3 separate regions of the Homo sapiens genome follow, and all the other regions are linked to region 3. The links are contacts of gene promoters, found by promoter capture Hi-C in human tissues and cell types (Jung and others, 2019). All regions are on one chromosome and are shown on one strand. Each heading gives the region's core, a stretch centred on a gene start or on the middle of the fragment in contact. The rest is flanking DNA. Distances are from core to core; before and after follow the strand shown. Region 1 has its middle 62 kb from the start of BNC2. Region 2 overlaps BNC2 (basonuclin zinc finger protein 2). Region 3 holds the start of BNC2 (basonuclin zinc finger protein 2).

Region 1 (3,767 bases), core at 721-3,220, 62 kb before region 3:
GCCCTTTCTGTTTCAGACAGATCTTTCTAAAATGCAAATCTGACTACATGCCTCAGTTGCTTAGAAACCTTCATTGGCTCCCTGTTGACCTCAGGATAAAGTAGTCCTCAGCCTGATAGAGAAGACTTTCTGGGAGCTGCATCTGGCCTACCTTTTCTAGTATCTCACGAGACCCCTTCTTCCCTCACACGCTGTCCTTGTCAGACCATCTTAAGTCACCTTTCCTTCATGCTCCTCCTCATTGCTCCAGCTTCATGAAATGTCCTACTATCCTATCTGTCTGGTGAATGCCTACTCATATATTTTAAGCCTCGGCTTAAGTATCACCTCCTCTTCGACCACTTTCATGAATTGAAATCACAACTGTAACTATTCTGTCTTTTTTGGGGAGACAATCTCTATGGGTCTATAAAACTTCTGCTCATCTTGCCAGTGGAACAACTCATTGTGTTCTAGACTATCTTTTCAAGGATGCTTGTATGACAGACAGCCTTGGAAGACCGAGATAGTATTTTCCTCCAGAGCCAAGAGCAGGTTTGTTTACTGTGCAGAATAACAAAATTAAGGTCTCTCTCTAGGGCAAAGGGCAGGCTGTTTCTCTACGCTAAAAGATTCAGTTTCGCTAGGCTAACAATTCATCTCCTACAATGCAACCCACAGCATATTCAGACATCACTTCACCCTATTTGTATCACTTTGTAGAAATTGCCATTATTGGGCACTTTGTCTACCAATACTGTCATGATTAATACATTATTTTGTCTCTGATCAAGGAGCCTCATGTCTCTGACAACATCCATGATATTGTGGCAAGCTAACTTAATAGCTTACAAGTAGGGTAAAATCTCAAACCCTTCACAGTTCTTGACAATATTGGCCCTTAACTGTAACATTTCTCAGCTCCTTAATGGTTCTGGACAGTACTATATTTGAACTCTATAACACTTTTAGCATAACACATCATTTTATTGCACTTATTGGACACCTACCACGTGCCACACACTACGACAAGACCTGAAAGATAGAAAGCCAAAAGACATGGTTGCTATCCTCAAGGAGTTTATACTCCAGTACAGAAACAGACCCCAACAATTAAAATCCTTCAAGATAATTTATAAGCTTTATAAATTACTTATGGGAACATCAGAAAGAAAATGTAAGGCTGCAAGGGGTTAAGGGAAGACTTCACTGAGGTGGTAATTTTATTCTAGCCTTGTAGGTTCAGATGAGAATTTTCCTGGACAATGAAGGGAAAGGTGTTCTTGCCAAGTACGCACAAATTCTAATGATAATTCCAAATCCTGCTGAATATGACGGTCAGTGCAGCATTCGTCAAAGTGAATATTTCTTTTTTTTTTTTGAGACAGAGTCTCCCTCAGTCATCCAGGCTGGAATGCAGTGGCGCGGTCTCGGCTCACTGCAGTTTACACCTCCTGGGTTCGCGCCATTCTCCTGCCTCAGCCTCCTGAGTAGCTGGGACTACAGGCGCCCACCACCACGCCTGATAGATAGCTAGATAGACAGACAGACAGACAGACAGACAGACAGACAGACAGACAGACATGGTTTGGCTCTGTGTCCTCACCCAAATCTCATTTCAAATTGTTATCCCCATATGTTAATGGAGGGAAGTGATTTGATTACGGGGGTGGTTTCCCCCATGCTGTTCTCATGATAGGGAGTGAATTCTCACGAGATTTGATGGTTTTGTAAATGGTAGTTTTTCCTGCGCTCACACACACTCTATCTCTCCTGCCACCATGTGAGACGTGCCTGCTTCCCCTTCCGCCATGATTGTAAGTTTTCCGTGGCCTTCCCAGCCATGCAGAACTGTGAGTCAATTAAACCTCTTTCCTTTATAAATTAAGGAAGAGTGTACCTTGGGTAGTATCTTTATAGCAATATGAAAACGGAAAACACACATATATAATGCCACAAGGGATGCAGCAAAAAAAGTAGACAAGGCCATTTCATGGAGAACATTGTTGATTGAGAAACTCCTTGGAAAGGAATTGAGACTTTGTCCTGCATGTGATTATACTAATTATCAATAACACTATAGGCAAGGAGAAGCATTGAAGTAGTGAAATGGCTTTAAGCTTCTAGTATAAACCCTAGCACACAGTAAGCTTTTGAGCAGATTTTTTGTTGTTGTTGCAAATAATAGAAAATTCAATTCAATCTGGTTTAAATAATAAAGGTAATTTATTGGTTCATGAAACAAAATGTCCAGTCAGAGACATCAGGCATGGCTTGAATCAGAATTTCTTATCATTTGGGCTCTGGGTCCATTTTTCTGACTTTCTTGGCTCTGCTGTCCCCTCTGTGCTTGCTTTATTCTCAGACTACATTTCCTCATAGAACAAACATAGCTGTAACAATTCCATGTCTCACAGCTACATACCCTCTGGAAGGAAAGTGAACACCCTTTATCTGAACATTCCAAGCAGAATTTAAGTTTTGCTCCAATTGGCACCCTAGGTCAGATGTCACAAAAGAACCAACCTATGTGTCAAAAGAGATGGAGGCCGGTTGCAGTGGCTCATGCCTGTAATCCCAGCACTTTGGGAGGCCAAGGCAAGCGGATCACGAGGTCAAGAGATGGAGACCATCCTAGCCAACATGGTGAAACCCCATCTGTACTAAAAATACAAAAATTAGCTGGGCGTGGTGGCACTCACCTGTAGTCCCAGCTACTCGGGAGGCTGAGGCAGGAGAATCGCTTGAGCCTGGGAGGCGGAGGTTGCAGTGAGCCAAGATAGCACCACTGCACTCCAGCCTGGGTGGCTGAGCAAGACTTTGTCTCAAAAAAAAAAAGAGAGAGAGATGGAATATTCTAGGTCACATGCTCCATTGGCAGAATCACATGGATTTCAAGATAGAAACAAAAGCCTTATAGAAAGCGAAAAGAAGGATGTTGATTGCTGAAGAATAAACACCAAGTGTACAAGTTGGCCCCAATAGATGTTTCCCAAATGGACAAATAATATCTGGCATTGATGGTATTTGCAACCTAATATGATCTCTCTGGTGCAACTGTAGAGGAGGTGGATGAAACTCTTAAGACTAGAGGCAATAAGATCAGTAAGAAGGATACTACAATGAAAGTCATGATAGGAAGAAGGGATAGAGAGTGAATGAGTGGATCTGACACTTTCTTTTTTTTTTTTTTTTTTTTTTGAGACAAGGTCTCTCTCTGTCACCCAGGCTGGAGTGCAGTGGTGTAATCACAGCTTACTGCAGCCTCAACTTCCTGGGCTCAAGCGATCCCCCCACCTCAGACCCCCTCCCCGCTGGTCCCCAGTAGCTGGAACTACAGACGTAAGCCACTATGTTCAGCTAATTTTTTAATTTTTTGTAGAGATGGGGTCTCACTTTGTTGCCCAGGTTGGATCCGACACTTCTGAGCATGTCCCTCCTTAAAGATGTAGCTGAGAAGCACTGGTATGTGCTATTCTTCCCTAGTACATTTTAAAATGCCTCCTAGACAGAGTTATCTGTCTGGATGCCCTGTAAACCTGTTCACCCTAACCTATAAATAGGCTCAGTGACTCCTATTCTTAAAAAATAACAACTGCAACATTGGCCAGGCAGGGTGGCTCATGCCTGTAATCCCAGCACTTTGGGAAGCCAAGGTGGGTGGGTCATCTGAGGTCAGGAGTTCAAGACCAGCCTGGCCAACCTGCTGAAACCTCTTGTCTGTTAAAAATACAAAAATTTGCTGGGAGTGGTAGCACATGCCTGTAATCCCAGCTACTCCGAAGGCC
Region 2 (3,776 bases), core at 430-2,929, 42 kb after region 3:
TTAGGGGGGCATTTCTGTTCCCCTGGGGAAATAAACTTCCTATTTATTTTTCTTAAGTATTTTTAAGCTTGGTTACTTATTTTTTTAAGTAATCCCTGCCACTGTTTATATGTAGAACCCAAGTAGCATTTGTAGTTGAATTTTGTACATTAAAAATATTTTGATCAGCAAATATTTAACAAGTGCCTACTGTGCGTTAAGATGTTTGTAGAATTGCCGTTTTGTTTGTGAATGTTAGCACTGGGCATAGATCTAAATCCTCCTCTTTGCAAACACCCCTGAGAATAGGAACTAAGGTGAGAATGTGTTTTGGCCTATATCGTGTTTTCTAGTCATTTCTATGTATTTTATTAGAAAAATATTTTTAAAAAATGTTTTGGGTTAGGGAACCAACCCACTTGTCCAACTTGTGAAAGTCTGCGGAACACCACCACCATCAAAAAAGACAACATATTCGGATCAGGAATGTAATCACCCAGTCACCTAATAAAAAGAGTGCTTGAGTATGCATATGGAACAAAAAAGCAAAACCATTCATTTGGTAAAGGGTGAGTAGGGGCCAGGAGACAGCCCTACCCTGAAGATAGAATGCTTTAAAAACATGTTGCCATTAATATTTAAGACAGAAAGCGTTTTGAGCCCGCTCCTCTCTTCTACCCTTCCTCAGCATTCATGTTGTAGTTTGCTCCCTAATGCTCACAAGTCCGTGCCAGACGGAAATTCGCAGAGGCCGCTGCAGTCCCGCAGAGGCCACTCAGGGGAGGGACGCGGGCGGAACAGTCGCGCTCAGTCCTCCCAGGCCGCCCCAGGCCCCAGGTCCCCTGGTGCCTCGTGCCGGCTCCTGGCTCGCCTCCCTTCTGCTCTGCCCAGCCCACCCCGCCGCCCCCCTGCTCACACATGCGGCCTCTCCCCCGCGCCCCAGCCTCTGGAGTCGCTTCGGGGCCATCTAGTCATACGCTGTCCATCAGATGTGTTTACTTTTTTCCTGACAGCCGACACATCTGGAGCACATATTCAGGTTATTCCAGTGCCACTAGACACATTCCACAAGATCATTTCAGCGGTTGTTATGGCGATCTTCCTCCCTCCAGTGATTTTCAAGTTGCATGACAGAAATAGCTGGAGCTAACCAGGGGGACAAAAGTCAACGGGATCAGGAAGGGCTTCTTTCACAGAATGAACTAATTAGTGACCCTGCTTTCTTCACAGGGCAATGAGCATATGGTTTAATAAAGTGAGTCTGTGACACTTTTTTTTTCTCTGTAGGCAAAGCTGTCACTGGCTGAAAACTTTCCTGTTTTTACTGGTGGGACCGTAGTCTGCTGTCTTTCAACAGAGTTTACTTCACAAGTAGAAAATGTTTGCTCCTGAGAGTTAAGCTTCAGAACGTATTCTTGGCTTCATACTACCTAACTATAGCAGGTCCTGTAACTTAAAGAGACAGTATTAATTTTATATTCATTTCATGGGAAGGGTTTATGCTTACTCAAGACTAAGCATTTTCAGTTAGGGTTTTGTAAGTATTATGAATTGATACCTGGAAGTTCAGGTAAATATAATGTGTTGTTTGCTGTGGTTTTTCTATAAAATATAATCAGTATTTCTCACTGGATTAGTTACAAATTTATTTGAACCTGTGATTTTTTTTTGGGCACAGTTATAGAATATTTTGGTATTAAAAGATTTGATTAAGCTACTCCATTTTTATCACATTTTAAGTAGCATGCAGATGTCTGGTTATGTCTGTCAATTTTTTTCCTGAGGTACTTTTTACATTTTGTGTAGGATTTTGGATGACTTTATAGTGTGAACATATCATTGCAGACATGGAAATTTAGACCTGAGATCATTTAGTGTTAGTAGTAGAAATACTGCTTTCAGTTTATAATGGATATATAAGGTAATTCTATAAAGCACTGCCATCTTTGATCACTTTATGAAGAATACAGACATGCCTCAATAAATGTTTTTTGGATGAATGGGCATATCATATGGATTCAAACAAAATACATGTTGCCATTAATCATGAGTCTGAGATTTATAAATTATAGGGGCCCATTTTCTTTTTTGTTTTTGTATTCCTGTACTGTAATTCAGTCTTGAAAAATGTAGCCAGCTATACATGTTTCACACTTCTTCCCATATGTACCATGATACTCTTTTACACACGTGTGCACATAGAATCTCTTAATCTCCTTTTCTTGTTCTTTCACCAGTACTCACAAATTCCACTCCTTTGCACGCACCCCATTTTTAGGTTGAGACCCAATGCACTTAAGTCACCATGAACAACAAAGTTTATAGTTTTCCTTTTTGATCGAATTACTCATGTGTTGACTGAGTTCTCCGGATTCTAGGAATATGACAATGAGTGACAAGTAGGAGAATCAGAGCTGGACTCACCCAAGCAATTGTCTTCATCTTTCTCCATCAGTACAATACCTCTTTCCTCCACTCTCAGTCAAATTCCTGTTCAGTGGGTCCCACTGAGGCTGGTCGCAGCTGCTCTGGAGTACCTGCTCTCAGGAAGACTAGAAGAACACTGAAAGGTCACATAATTACATGTGAATTTAATTCACAGAGACCTGCTTGTCGCTTTTCCATGTGTTTCTCCTAGTTACACATTATTAACTGTGGTGCCTTGTAGGGCTTCAATTACTTGGGCAAATATGTATCGTGCAGAGACTGAGCACAAGTTAGAATGCTGAGAGTGGTTATAAAATTATGTTTTCCTCTCCAGATGTAACTTTACAGTAATTAAACCTAATGCAATGTAAGCATTATAGTCAGTGCTGTGGTAGCTATCTCCAAGTCTAATTGGTAACATCGCTTAAATCATAGCACTTATTGCTGGTTATCTGGGAACTGGAATAAACCAAAAAAGTTACATACATTAACCTTTGGTTTTTCTGCATCAGGTGAAGTGGATAGCTTGTCCCTTCATCAAAATCTGTCATCTGTATTATATGGAATTTTGATAGCATTTAGAAAATTTTTTTCTTATTTAGATAGCTCTGTGTATTCATCCATCCATCGATCATCCATCCATCCATCTATCCATCCATCATTTCATCTGTCTTTAGGCTATTTTCCATAGTTTGTTGCCCTGGATTTGGAGACTTGATCCAGCACAGAGCTATTGTCCACTTGGGTTATTGGGGTTTCCCTTTCTAAGTAGATGATCAAAATCCATGGTGAAAACATGCTTGCCTTCCATAAAGGGCTACTTGTTTACTATATTTCAGTCATTTTTCTGCCAAAAGTAAAAAGTAAAAGAGTCCAAAAGATAGAAAAGAATCTCAAGTTTAAAATTTTCTTTTGCATTTATTATACCCAAGAATATGGCAAGCAGCTTAATTTAATCAAGCAGCAAGAGTGCCAGACAGTTTTCCTGCATGTGAGAGCTAAATAAATAGTGGACCTCCGTATGGCAGTGATAATCGCAACTTAGAGGGTTTTCTCAGTTGTGAAATGTTTGTGTTAAGGATGACTTTTTTGTTGTTTTTGTTACAGTCTGACAGCTGAAGATGCTTTTAAAACCTTCTAGTTACTTAGAGCAGAGCTATATGGCACAGGCTTGGTGGTTCTAAAAGGCAGGTCCTATCCATCACAGAAACAGCAAGTCTCTGGGTTATGGGGGAAGATTGAGCGGGGGGGAGTGAAGTAAGGAGAAAGGGGGGCTGTTGTGTCCAGTTTACATTTGTCACCAGTGACTAGCTTTTAAAAAATGTGTTAGCTGTGCATGGTGGTAAGTAAGATCCAGCTGCAGGGGATTA
Region 3 (3,449 bases), core at 810-3,309:
GCTCACTGCAACCTCCATCTCCCGGGTTCAAGCAATTCTCCTGCCTCAGCCTCCTGAGTAGCTGGGATTACAGGCGCCCGCCACCACAGTTGGCTAATTTTTGTATTTTTAGTAGAGATGGGGTTTCACCATGTTGGTCAGGCCGGTCTCGAACTCCTGACCTCAGGCGATCCGTCCGCCTCGGCCTCCCAAAGTTGGATTATAGGCGTGAGCCACCGCGCCCGGCCACCTAATCACATTTTCAAGACAGCTGTGGCTACTTGGGACTCTCATCAGCGGCTCCCGAAAAATTTAAAAAAATCAGTTACTGTGAAAATTTATATTAAACTAAGACCGGACTCTGCAAAGAAAATAAAACCATGTAATTCCAAGGCTACATATTTTCAAAGGAATTTAATTCTGTCCTCTGAATGCAATTAAGTAGTCTCTCTCTCTCTCTCTCTCCGTTTGAGGAAGAGAGAAGGGAAGAAGGGATGATTCTCACTTTTCACTAGGAACCGGTAACCATACCTGCTGTTCTGCCAAGTCTTCGCCGATTCTCTGATTTCTTAGTGCTCAGGGAGTATGCTTGAAACCTATGCCTTCCTCCCATGTTAGATAACCAGAAAGTTTGCTGTAGTTATGATAAATCTGCATAACTCGGAGATGTTTTTGGCACAAAGTGTACGTTAGTTAGATGATGATGATTAAGCTCCCCCCCCACCCCCGCCCCATTCTTGCGGCCGGGGAGTGTGTTTTGCCTGTATTTAAGAAATATCGTTCAGCTGCAGGCGTGTGCGCGCTTAGGCTGTAGTCGGCGTTTCTGAGTCTCCAGGGCAGGGTGACTTGGGTCGGCTGAGTGTCACCCACAGATGTGACTGTTCTTTCCCCCGCGGGCGCGACAGCCTCCTTCCTCTCCAGCCCGAGGCCCGCGGCCCAGACCACGGGAAAGGGAAGGAAGCCCTCGCCGCAAGCCGGCGTCTGGGCCGGCACAAAACGCTCCGCCACCAGAAAAACTTTTTTCCCCCAGCTGCGCGCAACTTTTGGCCTTTTCTCCCAGCACGTTCGCGTCCCAGGTTTCTGTCCGCTGGGTTTTCCTCCGCCTCACTCGCCTTCTCCCCAGCGGCGCGCGGAGGAGCTGGGCTGAGAGGGTCGCGGGGAGCCGGGTCGGCCGCGGCTGGGACGCTGGGGAAGGGGCAGGGGAGGAGGGGGCGTGCGGGGCTGGGGAGGAGGAACTGGTCAAAGGGGACAGAGACGCCCGAGTGCCCGAAAAGGAAAGAGCTGCCGCGGTTTGCTGCAGTCGGAATAAAGTTCGCGCCCTTTCCTCGGCGTTTCGCAGCCTCCTCTCCTTGCTCCGCTCCCCACCCCCGCCCCGCAATTTTTTTTTGTGTGTGTGTGACAGCTGGGCGCTAGCGGCCACCTCTACCTCCACGCCCGCAGCTCCCCGGGGGGGGGGGGGGGCGCCAGGGTTGTTTTTCCATCCCCACAAAGTTGTTTTTTCCATCCCCAGAAAGAGAGAGCAAGAACAACCCAAACAACAAACAAGCCCCCAAAGAAGTCACGGGGCGGTGGGGGGAGGGAGAAACATACATCCTCCTTCCCCAAGCCCCTGGACCTCTGAGGACAAACAACACAACGACCGACTTTTATTTTGCAAAAGGGAAGCAACATTGTAGTCACGACAATTCTGCAGAGAGAGGAAAAACTTGTGGGGCTTGCACGGCCGCCGAGGTCACCTCGCCCGCCGGTCCCCCGCCTCCCGCGAGCAGGGCAGCCCCCTCCCGGGACAAGCCGTTCCCTTTTTTTTTTTTTTTGTCCCGAGGAGGAGCCGGGGAACCGTGCCGGCTGGGACTCGGGGCGCGAGCGCGACCCCGGCGCGAGTGTAAATCAGTCACCTGAGCGCAGAGGGGCCGCGGCGAGGGCGCGCGCGGGCGGGCGGGGAGGCGGAGGCGGCGAGAGCGGAGGCCCGGAGGAACTCGGAGGGGGAGGGAGAGAAAGGCCGAGACGGAGGGAGCCAGCGGCGGCCGAGGGGCTGGTCCAGGCGCGGCCGCTAAGAGGAGACCAAGAGGCGGGGGCTGCACTTGACAACCAGCATGCCGAGATGGTAAGAAGTTTCCACCCTCCTTCCTCTTTTATTCTAGACTTCCTCAGAAATGACCCCCGCGCCCGAGCGCCACCGGGGCCGCCCGGGGGCCGTGTCCGCCCTCCGGCCCGCGGCGTGAGGGGCAAGGGGCGCTGAGGAGGGCGGGCCGGGGACCAGAACCCCGGTCCGACCTGATCCCCGCTGCGCTCCCAGTGGCCTCCCCTAAACTTGGCCCCAAGTTTCTGAGGCGAGCTCTAGGTGGGAGGGTGCACGTGAGAGGGGGCTTCTCAAGGTCGGCCCCGCTCGCGGCTTCCGCGCGAAGGTGAGCGGCTGGCTAGGGGAGGCTCCAGGGCGTTGGGGACGGGCTGGGGGGACGAGGTGGAGGGGAGTGGGGGATGAATGGAGCGCTGGCAGGAGCTCGGGGAAGAGAGGAAGGCGGCTGGGACCTACGGGAACTTTTACAACTTGCCGCCGAGTGAGGGACCGGCGGCTGGGCGTGGGTGCCGGGTGCGCTGGGGCGCAGCCGCCCGGGCCCGGCACGTTGACTCTTCCTCTCCCCTTGTCTTCACATTCGGAATCTTCCCGTGGTAAATGGAGATGGGAGGAAATGCTCCCGCAGGCTTTACGGAGAAGGTGCAGAACGCAGGGCAGGAAAATCAACCTTGCAGAGACGGCTCTTTTCGAAGTGCAATTCTATAGGAGCCGATTTGTTTTACTTGCACGTTGACTGGAGGGTGGGATTTGGGGCCTGGGGAGGGAGCAGAATAAAAAATTATATATGCTGAAAAACCCTAGGTGAAATCTCCTGTGAAGTGAGTTTAAGGTTGAAAAAAAGTTCCAAGTGCAAGTGGTGGAGGAGATGGGCTGGCTTTGCCAAGCGAGACTCCAGCACAGCCCCTCTACGAGAAGCGACTTCTTTGCAGCGAGGAAGCGTGCAATTAGTTCGCCTGGTGATGAGCCGCTCTGTCCGCTTTCGGGGAAGTGATTTGTTAGAAATGGGGCTTGACCACTCCCTTCTTTTTAGTTTGCTTCCTCCCAGCGTCGCTATTGTTACCCCCACTTGGGGATCTGACATGGTGTATTCCGTATATAGAGGGAACATATGAGAATACAGGTGAGATAGCGGGTTGGCATTTTTTCCTCTTCCCTGCTCCCTAATGTGACATCTCTTGTTTCAGTGATCAAAGTCACAACTGGAGTGTAGGAGATGGGACTGTCAAATGCAGGGGCGCGTACACACACACACACACACAAAAGCAAGAGCCCAGGACTGTGGTTACAGTAACGCTGACAGAAATTAAAGTGGTTTTGAAAGCAGCGTGCGATTTATGATGGTTCCCATTTACCCTAGAGTCAAGCTGTTGTAAAACTGACGTACAAAAGACAT

The links. Contacts are between HindIII fragments. The study calls those that stand out against the background at their distance.
Region 1: a contact is called between a fragment that was not itself captured here and the fragment with the promoter of BNC2 in region 3, in 1 of the 25 tissues and cell types used here (lymphoblastoid cells).
Region 2: a fragment that was not itself captured here is called in contact with the fragment with the promoter of BNC2 in region 3 in 1 of the 25 tissues and cell types used here (hippocampus).

The regions. Positions count from the first base shown.
Region 1 is chr9:16,930,573-16,934,339 of GRCh38, reverse strand. No RefSeq gene overlaps it. Among named protein-coding and RNA genes, the nearest start is that of BNC2, 62 kb to the right of the region's middle. The HindIII fragment of the contact is 3,915 bases long and covers 13-3,767 here.
Region 2 is chr9:16,826,101-16,829,876 of GRCh38, reverse strand. All of the region lies in intron 1 of BNC2 (basonuclin zinc finger protein 2), which reads left to right. Among named protein-coding and RNA genes, the nearest start is that of BNC2, 43 kb to the left of the region's middle. RefSeq lists an enhancer at 830-999. The HindIII fragment of the contact is 3,516 bases long and covers 1-3,437 here.
Region 3 is chr9:16,869,280-16,872,728 of GRCh38, reverse strand. It overlaps BNC2 (basonuclin zinc finger protein 2), which reads left to right and starts at 2,059. Exons shown (of 7, transcript NM_017637.6): 1 at 2,059-2,083. The coding sequence starts at 2,081. The HindIII fragment of the contact is 8,994 bases long and covers 1-3,449 here.